Regions from separate parts of the Homo sapiens genome. Here region 2 is linked to region 1. The links are contacts of gene promoters, found by promoter capture Hi-C in human tissues and cell types (Jung and others, 2019). All regions are on one chromosome and are shown on one strand. The core of a region is centred on a gene start or on the middle of the fragment in contact, and the rest is flanking DNA. Distances in the headings are between cores, read along the strand shown. Region 1 holds the start of ITGAD (integrin subunit alpha D). Region 2 has its middle 20 kb from the start of ITGAM.

Region 1 (4,418 bases), core at 435-2,934:
AATGTTTTAAATAATTGTCACATATATATACAAAATAATTTATGTTATAGGTAGGGATCTTGTTATATTTTAACCTTCAAAGTATATTCCTAAGCTTTTTATTTATTTTTTATTTTTTATTTATTGAGACAGTCTTGCTCTGTCGCCCAGGCTGGAGTGCAGTGGCGCAATCTTGACTCACTGCAAACTCTACCTCCTGGGTTCAAGCGATTCTCCTGCCTCAGCCTCCTGAGTAGCTGGGATTACAGGTGCGCACCACCATGCCCAGCTAATTTTTGTATTTTTAGTAGAGACGGGGTTTCACCATATTGGCCAGAGCTGGTCTCAAACTCCTGACCTCAGGTGATCCATCCACCTCAGCCTCTCAAAGTGCTGGGATTATAGGTGTGAGCCACTGCGCCTGGCCTATTCCTAGCCTTTTATATATAGACCTTTTTCTTTTTCACATTTTAAAGGAACTTTTATGTTTAATCATGGAATATTTCAAACATACAGAAAAATCACAGAAAATAAATAACAACCACTCATTTATCTTCTCCCCAACCCCATGTAATAAATATTAAAATATTGTGTTAAATGCTAAATTTAACACATGCTAAAGGTTCCTGGCTGGATGTGGTGGCTCACGCCTGTAATCCCAGTACTTTGGGAGGAGGAGGTGGGAGGATTGCTTGAGTCCAGGAGCTCGAGACCAGCATGGGCAACATAGTGCGATCTCGTCTCTACAAAAAACAAAAAAATTAGCTGGGCATGGTGGTGTGCATCAGTAATCCCAGTGACTGGGAGGCTGAGGTGGGAGAATTGCTTGAGTCTGGGAATTTGAGGCTGCAGTGAGCCCTGATCATGCCACTGCATTCCAGCATGGGCGACATAGCAAAACTTGTCAAAAAAAAAAAAAGTTTCCTCTCTGCCCCACCATAGACAACCACTCTTCTGATTTCTATCTTCGTAGATGAATTTTGCCCATTCTCTTGTATATGAAAGGAACCAGACATTAGGCATTCTGGTGTCTGGTTTCTTTCACTTAAGATAAAATTGAGTTAACCTGTATTGTTGTACAGAACTGCAGTTTGTTCTTTGTTATTTATTGTAAAGACAGGGTCTGGCTATGTTGCCTAGGCTGGTCTCGAACTGTTGGCCTCAAGCAATCCACCTGCCAAGCTCTGGGACCACAGGCATGAGCCATGGCATCTGATCTGTAGTTTGATCTTATTTCTTGCTGAGTAGTAGCCCATGGCATGACTTTATTATTTTGGGTGTCCATTCTCCTCTGGAGGGGCTCTGCTTTTTGAAACCACACCCTGGCCTAGCTCCCCTTCTCCCTGCCTCTCTGCCGGCTCACATCCACATGCCAAGACCTCTGCAGCCATTCTGCTTCCTGTCCTTCCACTCCTGTGGGACCTCAGAGAGCTACGGGGCTCCCTGGGTACCAACTGGCTCCTGAGGCCTGGGGGAGGGTGGTCTTCTGGGAGAAGGAAGCCAGGTCCCTGCAGGTTGTGGAGGGGGACAGAATGAGGGTTTTTCCCCAGGGTGTTGTTGGCCCCTGCCCCCACTTCTGTTCCATAATTAACCACGCCCCTCCTACCCACTGTGCCCCTCTTCCTGCTGTGTGGAGGCCCTGAATCATTATTTTAACTACCCCCTGGGAGGGTGAGCACCTTCTGTGCTCTGTCCCCAACCTTCCACTTCCCCTCAACGCGCTGCTCAGGGATGACCTTCGGCACTGTGCTTCTTCTGAGTGGTAAGTGGGGCCAGGGTGCTGGGGAGAAGCTTGGAGGAGTTCTGAGGGGACTCCATCTGGGAGGGCAGGCTGGGGGCTGGTGGTCGGCTCCAACCACTCTTATGAGGAGCTGAGGCAGGGGAGTGCTTCATGTGCGAGTGGCCCGGAGTCAGTAGAGTGTGACCTGAATGAAGAGGGGCTCAGGGGCTGTGCTCAGGTGGCGACTAAGCTACCTCTCCAGCTGGCTATGTTGTCCCAGGCTTCCCTGCTCCCACTCATGGAGTCCCTGGTGTGGGTGACAGAGGTCTCCCCAGCCTCCCCCGGGAGTGGAAGGCCACAGAAGCCACCAGGGAGGGGGAAAGGTTGGACATCACCTCCCTGGGCCTGTTTCCCCCAAGTCCTGACTGCACGTAGGGAAGAGGCCCCCTGCTGAAAACTGCATCAGAGTCACATTCACGTGCCATCAAAAATCAGGCTTGGCTGGGTGCGGTGGCTCATGCTTATAATCCCAGCACTTTGGGAGGCCGAGATGGGCGTATCCCCTGAGGTCAGGAGTTTGTGACCAGCCTGGCCAACATGGTGAAACCCCATCTTTACCAAAAATATAAAAATTAGCCGGGCATGGTGGCGTGCACTTGTAATCCCAGCTACTTGGGAAGCTGAGGCAAGAGAATCGCTTGAACCCAGGAGACGGAAGTTGCAGTGAGCTGAGATCGTGCCGTTGCACTCCAGCCTCAGCAACAGAGCGAGACTCCATCTCAAAAAAAAAAAAAAAAAAAAGAAAAAAAAGAAAAAGAGGCTGGGAGGTCCTAGGGATTGGGGCTTCTTTAACTCCCAGCCTCCCCGCCCACCAAATATTCCTCAGTCCTGGCTTCTTATCATGGATTCAACCTGGATGTGGAGGAGCCTACGATCTTCCAGGAGGATGCAGGCGGCTTTGGGCAGAGCGTGGTGCAGTTCGGTGGATCTCGGTAGGCCCCACTCACCCTCCTTCCCCAACCTCCACTACATCAAGTCCTGTGGATGGGTACACGTGGGTTACCCCAGGGAGGTGTCCTGGAGGAAGGCCAGCAGGGGTGAGAAGTCTTCCCTTGGCTCCTTGGAGGCCCTGACATCAGCACCTATTATTCTCAATCCCAGGAAAGGCCACAAAACTCTAGACAAGACCCTACCTTACCTCGGGAGGGAAGCCTTGAACCTGCCTCCCAGGCAGGGCCCACTTCTTGGGGCCAGTATGGTCACACAGGGCCCACACTCATTAACTTTGGAGTTTAATGTTCTGCCCTTGACCTCTTGAAATTCCTGATTATTTTTATTTTTATTTTTACTCCAGCTCTGTTACCCAGGCTGGAGTGCAGTGGTGCAATCACAGCTTACTGCAGCCTCAAACTCTCGGGCACAAGTGATCCTCTCACCTCAGCCTCCTGAATAGCTGGGACCACAGGTGCATGCCATCATGCCTGTTTTTTGTTTTGTTTTGTTTTACTTTTTACAGAGATGGAGTCTTGCTATGTTGTCCAGACTGGCTGAACTCCTGGGCTCAAGCAATCCTCCTGCCTTGGCCTCCCAAAGTGCTGGGATTACAGGTGTGAGCCACCCTGTCTTGCCAATTCTTAAAAATTTTATCTGTGCATTTGTGTTTTGCAAGTAAAGAATGATGGCAGGGCTGGGCACCATGGCTCACGCCTATAATCCCAACGCTTTGGGAGGCTGAGGCGGGCAGATCATCTGAGGCCAGGAGTTTGAGACCAGTTTGGCCAACACAGCAAAACCCCATCTCTACTAAAAATGCAAAAAAAATTAGCCGGGCATGGTGGCAGGCATCTGTAATCCCAGCTACTTGGGAGGCTGAGGCAGGAGAATCGCTTGAACCTGGGAGGTGGAGGTTGCAGTGAGCCGAGATCGTGCCACTTTACTCCAGCCTAGGTGACAGAGTGAGACTCCGTCAAAAAAAAAAAGTCATGGGAGAAGGGAGATGCACTGGGGGTTTGGAGCCTTAGCTCAGCAGCAGCCCCACCTCCCACCGCCTCCTGAAGGGTGGTGAAGGGGTATCAGCTGCTGGCTCCCCCACCCATGTGGGAGCAATGACCGCTGCTACCTTCCGCCCCTGGCATGAGCTGGGTAAAGTCAGTTAGGGGCGCTCACTCTGGGAGTACCCCGAGGGAGTGGGACACTACATAGCAAATAAAAAACGTCAGGACAGGTTGAGGAAGAGAGCAGAAGAAAGGTAAGAGCCCCCCAACCCCAAGAGACCCCACAGTTTTATTTCAAATTGGGACCCACAAATTATGAACCTGCCCCCACTTCCAGGAGCTCACATTCTCCTGTCCCAGAGAGTTCAAGTCACAATGTGACACAGGTGTCACCAAGGTCTGGGGGGCGCAGGCAGGGAGAGAGCAGACCCAGGAGGGTTCCATGGAGGAAGTGGTGCTGGCAGTGAGCCCCAGTGGACAGGAAGGCTCAGTTGGTCACGAGGAGCTATAAGAGGTCACCGAGCTCCAACCGCGCACCCCTCTCCCTTCCTCATGTGACTGGCAGTCTGGGGGGATGGAAGCAAGCACCAGGCACCAGGCTTTTGTTTTTCTTTATTTGGAAATGTGGTCAACTGAGGTGCACAAATCTGAAAGACCCAATCTGATAAAGGATACACATGTGCGTGCCTGGGTGAGCCCCACCTAGGTCAGCTGCTCCAGTGTCA
Region 2 (4,223 bases), core at 9-2,508, 150 kb before region 1:
TGTTCACCATCTTTTATGGTTGAGGTTTGTGGTACCCCAAAACAATTACAATAGTAACTTCAAAGATCACTGATCACAGATCACCATCACAGATAGAAGAATGATGAAAAGCTTGAAATATTGTGAGAATTACCAAAATCTGACAAAGAGAGGTGCAGTGAGCACGTGCTGTTGAAAAAATGGCACCAATAGATTTGCTTGACGCAGGGTTGCCACAGACCTTCAGTTTGCAGAAAATGCGGTATCCATGAAAAGCAATAAAGTGAACTACAATAAAACAACGCATGTCTGTACTTAATTATATCTTACAGATAAGGGGAAGGTTTCCTTTGACCACACCCCCAGTGCTGATTATTTCTTTTTCCTCCTCATCAGAAGTAATATTGTCAAGTTTAGTGAGTAGTTTTGTTTTATGTTTTGAGACAGAGTCTTGCTCTGTCACCCAGGCTGGAGTGCAGTGGTGTGATGTCAGCTCACTGCAACCTCTGCCTTCCAGGTTCAAGTGATTCTCCTGCCTCAGCCTCCCGCGTAGCTGGGACTACAGGCGCCCACCACCTCGCCCGGCTAATTTTTTGTATTTTTAGTAGAGATGGGGTTTCAGGATGGTCTCGATCTCCTGACCTCGTGATCAACCTGCCTCGGACTCCCAAAGTGCTGGGATTACAGGCGTGAGCCACCGCGCCCGGCCTATTTTTAAAATTTAATTAAAAAAAATTTTTTTGGCCAGGCATGATGAGTCATGCCTGTAATCCCAGCACTTTGGGAGGCCGAGGCAGGCGGATCACCCAAGGTGAGGATTTCGAGACCAGCCTGGTCAACATGGTGAAACCCCGTCTCTACTAAAAATACAATTAGCTGGGTGCAGTGGTGGGCACCTGTAATCCCAGCTACTCGGGAGGCTGAGGCAGGAGAATCACTTGAACCAGGAGACAGAGGCTGCAGTGAGCAGAGATTGTGTCACTGCACTCCAGCCTGGGTGACAGAGCAAGACTCTATCTCAAAAAAGAATTAGCCAGGCATGGTGGTTCATGCCTGTAGTCTCAGCTACTTGGGAGGCTGAGGTGGGAGGATAGCTTTGCACTTTGGGAGTCTCATTTTCAGATATGAAAAAAAAGCCCAGCACGGTTCCAAAGTTAATATCACATCCAATTTAAAGAGACCTGGTGAGGCGCGGTGGCTCACGCCTATAATACCAGCACTTTGGGAGGTCGAGGTGGGAGAAGCATTTGAGTCCAGGGGTTTGTGACCAGTCATAGTGAGACCCCATCTCTCCAGAAAAAAAAAAAAAGGCTGGATATGGTGATGCTCGCCTGGGGTCCCAGCTACTCAGGAGGCTGAGGCAGGAGGATTGCTTGAGTCCAGTAGTTGGAGGCTGCAGTGAGCTATGATTGGGCCACTACGTGTCAGCCTGGGCAATTAGAAGGAGACCCAGTATTTTTTTTTTTAATGTAAATATAAATAAGGTGACCTAAAGTGGTGAAGGAACCCTCCCCACTCCTCTCTGCTGGCTCCTTCAAGGTCAAGGTTAATCAGAGGAAAAGGGGCTGGGTGACACATGATTGGTGTGTCTATGATCTGTGACACCTGTCATGTGCTCTCCTGGGAGGTGTTGGCTTCTTCTGAGGTGGTATAGGCAGACGCTTTCTGGCTGGCCTCTTATGACAACCCCTCAGTCCTTCCTCCCTGCCCCTGCCCCAGGGGATTCCACTCCCGGCAGCCTCTCACTGCCCGTCCCTTTGCCAGGGTAGGCAGCTGTTTAGGGCAGGGGCCGCCACAACACTAGAGCCCGCTCATTTTGTTGGCATTCACCAGGCCTAGGGGTCTCATTTATTCTCACCTATCCAAAAGGACGTGCCCTCCTCTCTCTCCCTGTCTGGCCCCTTCGGGCTGCTCCGGACCTTCTCGTTCCTCCTCCAGAATCCTCTGGGTTGGATGACAGCACTGGTGGATGCCACACTCAGGGGCCTGCATCAGGTTCTCCTAAGAACCTCTTGTCAGCCTTCATCTGAGCCTTCCGGTTCCTGCAGCCCAGGAGAGCCGCCTCCAATCTCCACAAGGGCTTCTTCTTCTTCTTTTTTAATTGTTGTTGTATTGTTTGTTTGTTTGTTTTTGAGACAAGGTCTCTGTCACTCAGGCTGGAGTTCAGAGGTGCAATCACAGCTCACTGCAGCCTCCAACTCCTGGGCTCAAGCGATCCTCCCGCCTCAGCCTTCCAAGTAGCTGGGACTATAGGTGTGCGCCACCCTGCCTGGCTAATTTTCACTTTTTAATTTTAGTAGAAATGGGGTCTCAGTATGTTGCCCAGGCTGGTCAGGGCTTCTTTTGGAGCAACCTCCTCACTTGCTTTGAGGTGTGGGACGTCCCTGTGGGGGCAGGTGAGGAACCACCACAGCTGTCTCATTGAGGTGGGTGATGAGGGTGGAAATTAGCAAGATGGACCTGCTCTCTCACTAGGAATCCTAAAGGGTGTGTCTGCGGCTCGGTTTAGAATGTGGGGCTTTGTATTAATCAGTTTTGTCCTCAGCTTTGGGGCTGTAAACAAAAATTCTATCAATTTGCATTCCAAACAGCACCGTACGAGAATATAGTTTCTCCAAATCTTCTCCAGCACTCTTTTTTTTTTTTTTTTTGAGCCAGAATCTCATTCTGTCGCCCAGGCTGCCAGGCTGGAGTGCAGTGGTGCAATCTTGGCCCACTGCAACCTCCGACTCCTGGGTTCAAGGGATTTTCCTGTCTCAGCCTCCCGAGTAGCTGGGATTTCAGGCTAATTTTTGCCTGGCTAAAATTATCATGCCTGGCTAATTTTTGTAGTTTTAGTAGAGACAGGGTTTCACCATGTTGGCCATGCTGGAGCACTCAATATTATCAAGCTCAAATTCTTATTTCTTTTTGCCAACATGATGGGAAATAAATAAATAGTATCACATGGCTTTTTAAAAGTTTAATTTATATTTTTCTCATTGTATGCATTTATTGACCAGTTATAATTCCTCTTCTAAAAATGGTCTGTTCCTATGCCTTGGCTTTTTTTTTTTTTTGAAACGGAGTCTCGCTCTGTCACCCAGACTGGAGTGCAGTGGCACGATCTTGGGTCACGGCAACCTCTGCCTCCCAGGATCAAACAATTCTCCTACCTCAGCCTCTTGAGTAGCTGGGATTACAGGCGCGCACCACCACGCCCGGCTTTTTGTATTTTTAGTAGAGAAGGGGTTTCACCATGTTGGCCAAGCTGGTCACGAATTCCTGACCTCAAGTGACCCACCTTCCGCAGCCTCCTTAAGTGCTGGGATTACAGTCACGAGCCACCGTGCGCCCGGCTGCTTATTTTCCTTCATGAGTTATTGTGGTTCTTTATATATCTGCATACTTTTTTTTTTTTCTGCTACATACATGTGTGGCAAGTGTTTTCTCCTAATCTGACAGCTTGTCCTTCAACTCTGTTTATGGAGTTCTTCTCCTTGTGTTACAGAGGAAATGTTTGGACAGCTTTGGCTTAAGTGTCATCTGCACAGGGCATTTTTTTTGTGCCTTCACAGTGCCTGAGTGATGGCAACACACTCTCTTGGCACTGCAAGCTCCTTCCATCAGGGTGGGACCTGGGTCCTGAGCATGGATTCTTTGGGTCAACATCCCTGCTGCTCTACCTGGTGGGAAAATCCCTTGTCCCTAAAAGATTTATTTTATTTATTTGTTTTTTTTTTGAAATGGAGTCTCGCTCTGTCTCCCAGGCTGGAGTGCAGTGGTGCAATCTTGCTCACTACAACCTCCGCCTCTTGGGTTCAAGTGATTCTCCTGTCTCAGCCTCCCGAGTAGCTGGGATTACAGGCTCACGCCACCACTCCGGGCTATTTTTTGTATTTTTAGTAGAGATGGGGTTTCACTCATGTTGGCCAGGCTGGTCTTGAACTCCTGACCTCAGGTGATCTGCCTGCCTTGGCCTCCCAAACTGCTGGGAATACAGGCGTGAGCCATCATGCCCAGCCTCAGTCCCTAAAAGATTTCTAACTGGTGCTTGAAACCTGAACCCTAACTCATAACATCCCAATTCAGATGCAATCACATGGGTAGCACTTTCAGATTTTACAAAGTGCTTTCATATCCATGATCTTAATTGACCCTCTTAGGGAATGAAGGGAGGGTTGGAATCAGGTCTCCAGTTCATTGGAGAAAACAGTCTCTCAGCAGTTCCCAACAGCAATAGTGATGGTGTTGGCCCAGGAGCC

What was found. The method cuts DNA at HindIII sites, captures the fragments that hold promoters and counts their contacts. A contact is called where the count stands out against the background at its distance.
Region 2: a contact is called between a fragment that was not itself captured here and the fragment with the promoter of ITGAD in region 1, in 1 of the 25 tissues and cell types used here (dorsolateral prefrontal cortex).

Annotation. Positions count from the first base shown.
Region 1 is chr16:31,391,651-31,396,068 of GRCh38, forward strand. ITGAD (integrin subunit alpha D) reads left to right here and starts at 1,685. Exons shown (of 30, transcript NM_005353.3): 1 at 1,685-1,741; 2 at 2,586-2,691. The coding sequence starts at 1,711. The HindIII fragment of the contact is 7,632 bases long and covers 1-4,418 here.
Region 2 is chr16:31,237,993-31,242,215 of GRCh38, forward strand. No RefSeq gene overlaps it. Among named protein-coding and RNA genes, the nearest start is that of ITGAM, 20 kb to the right of the region's middle. The HindIII fragment of the contact is 6,547 bases long and covers 1-4,223 here.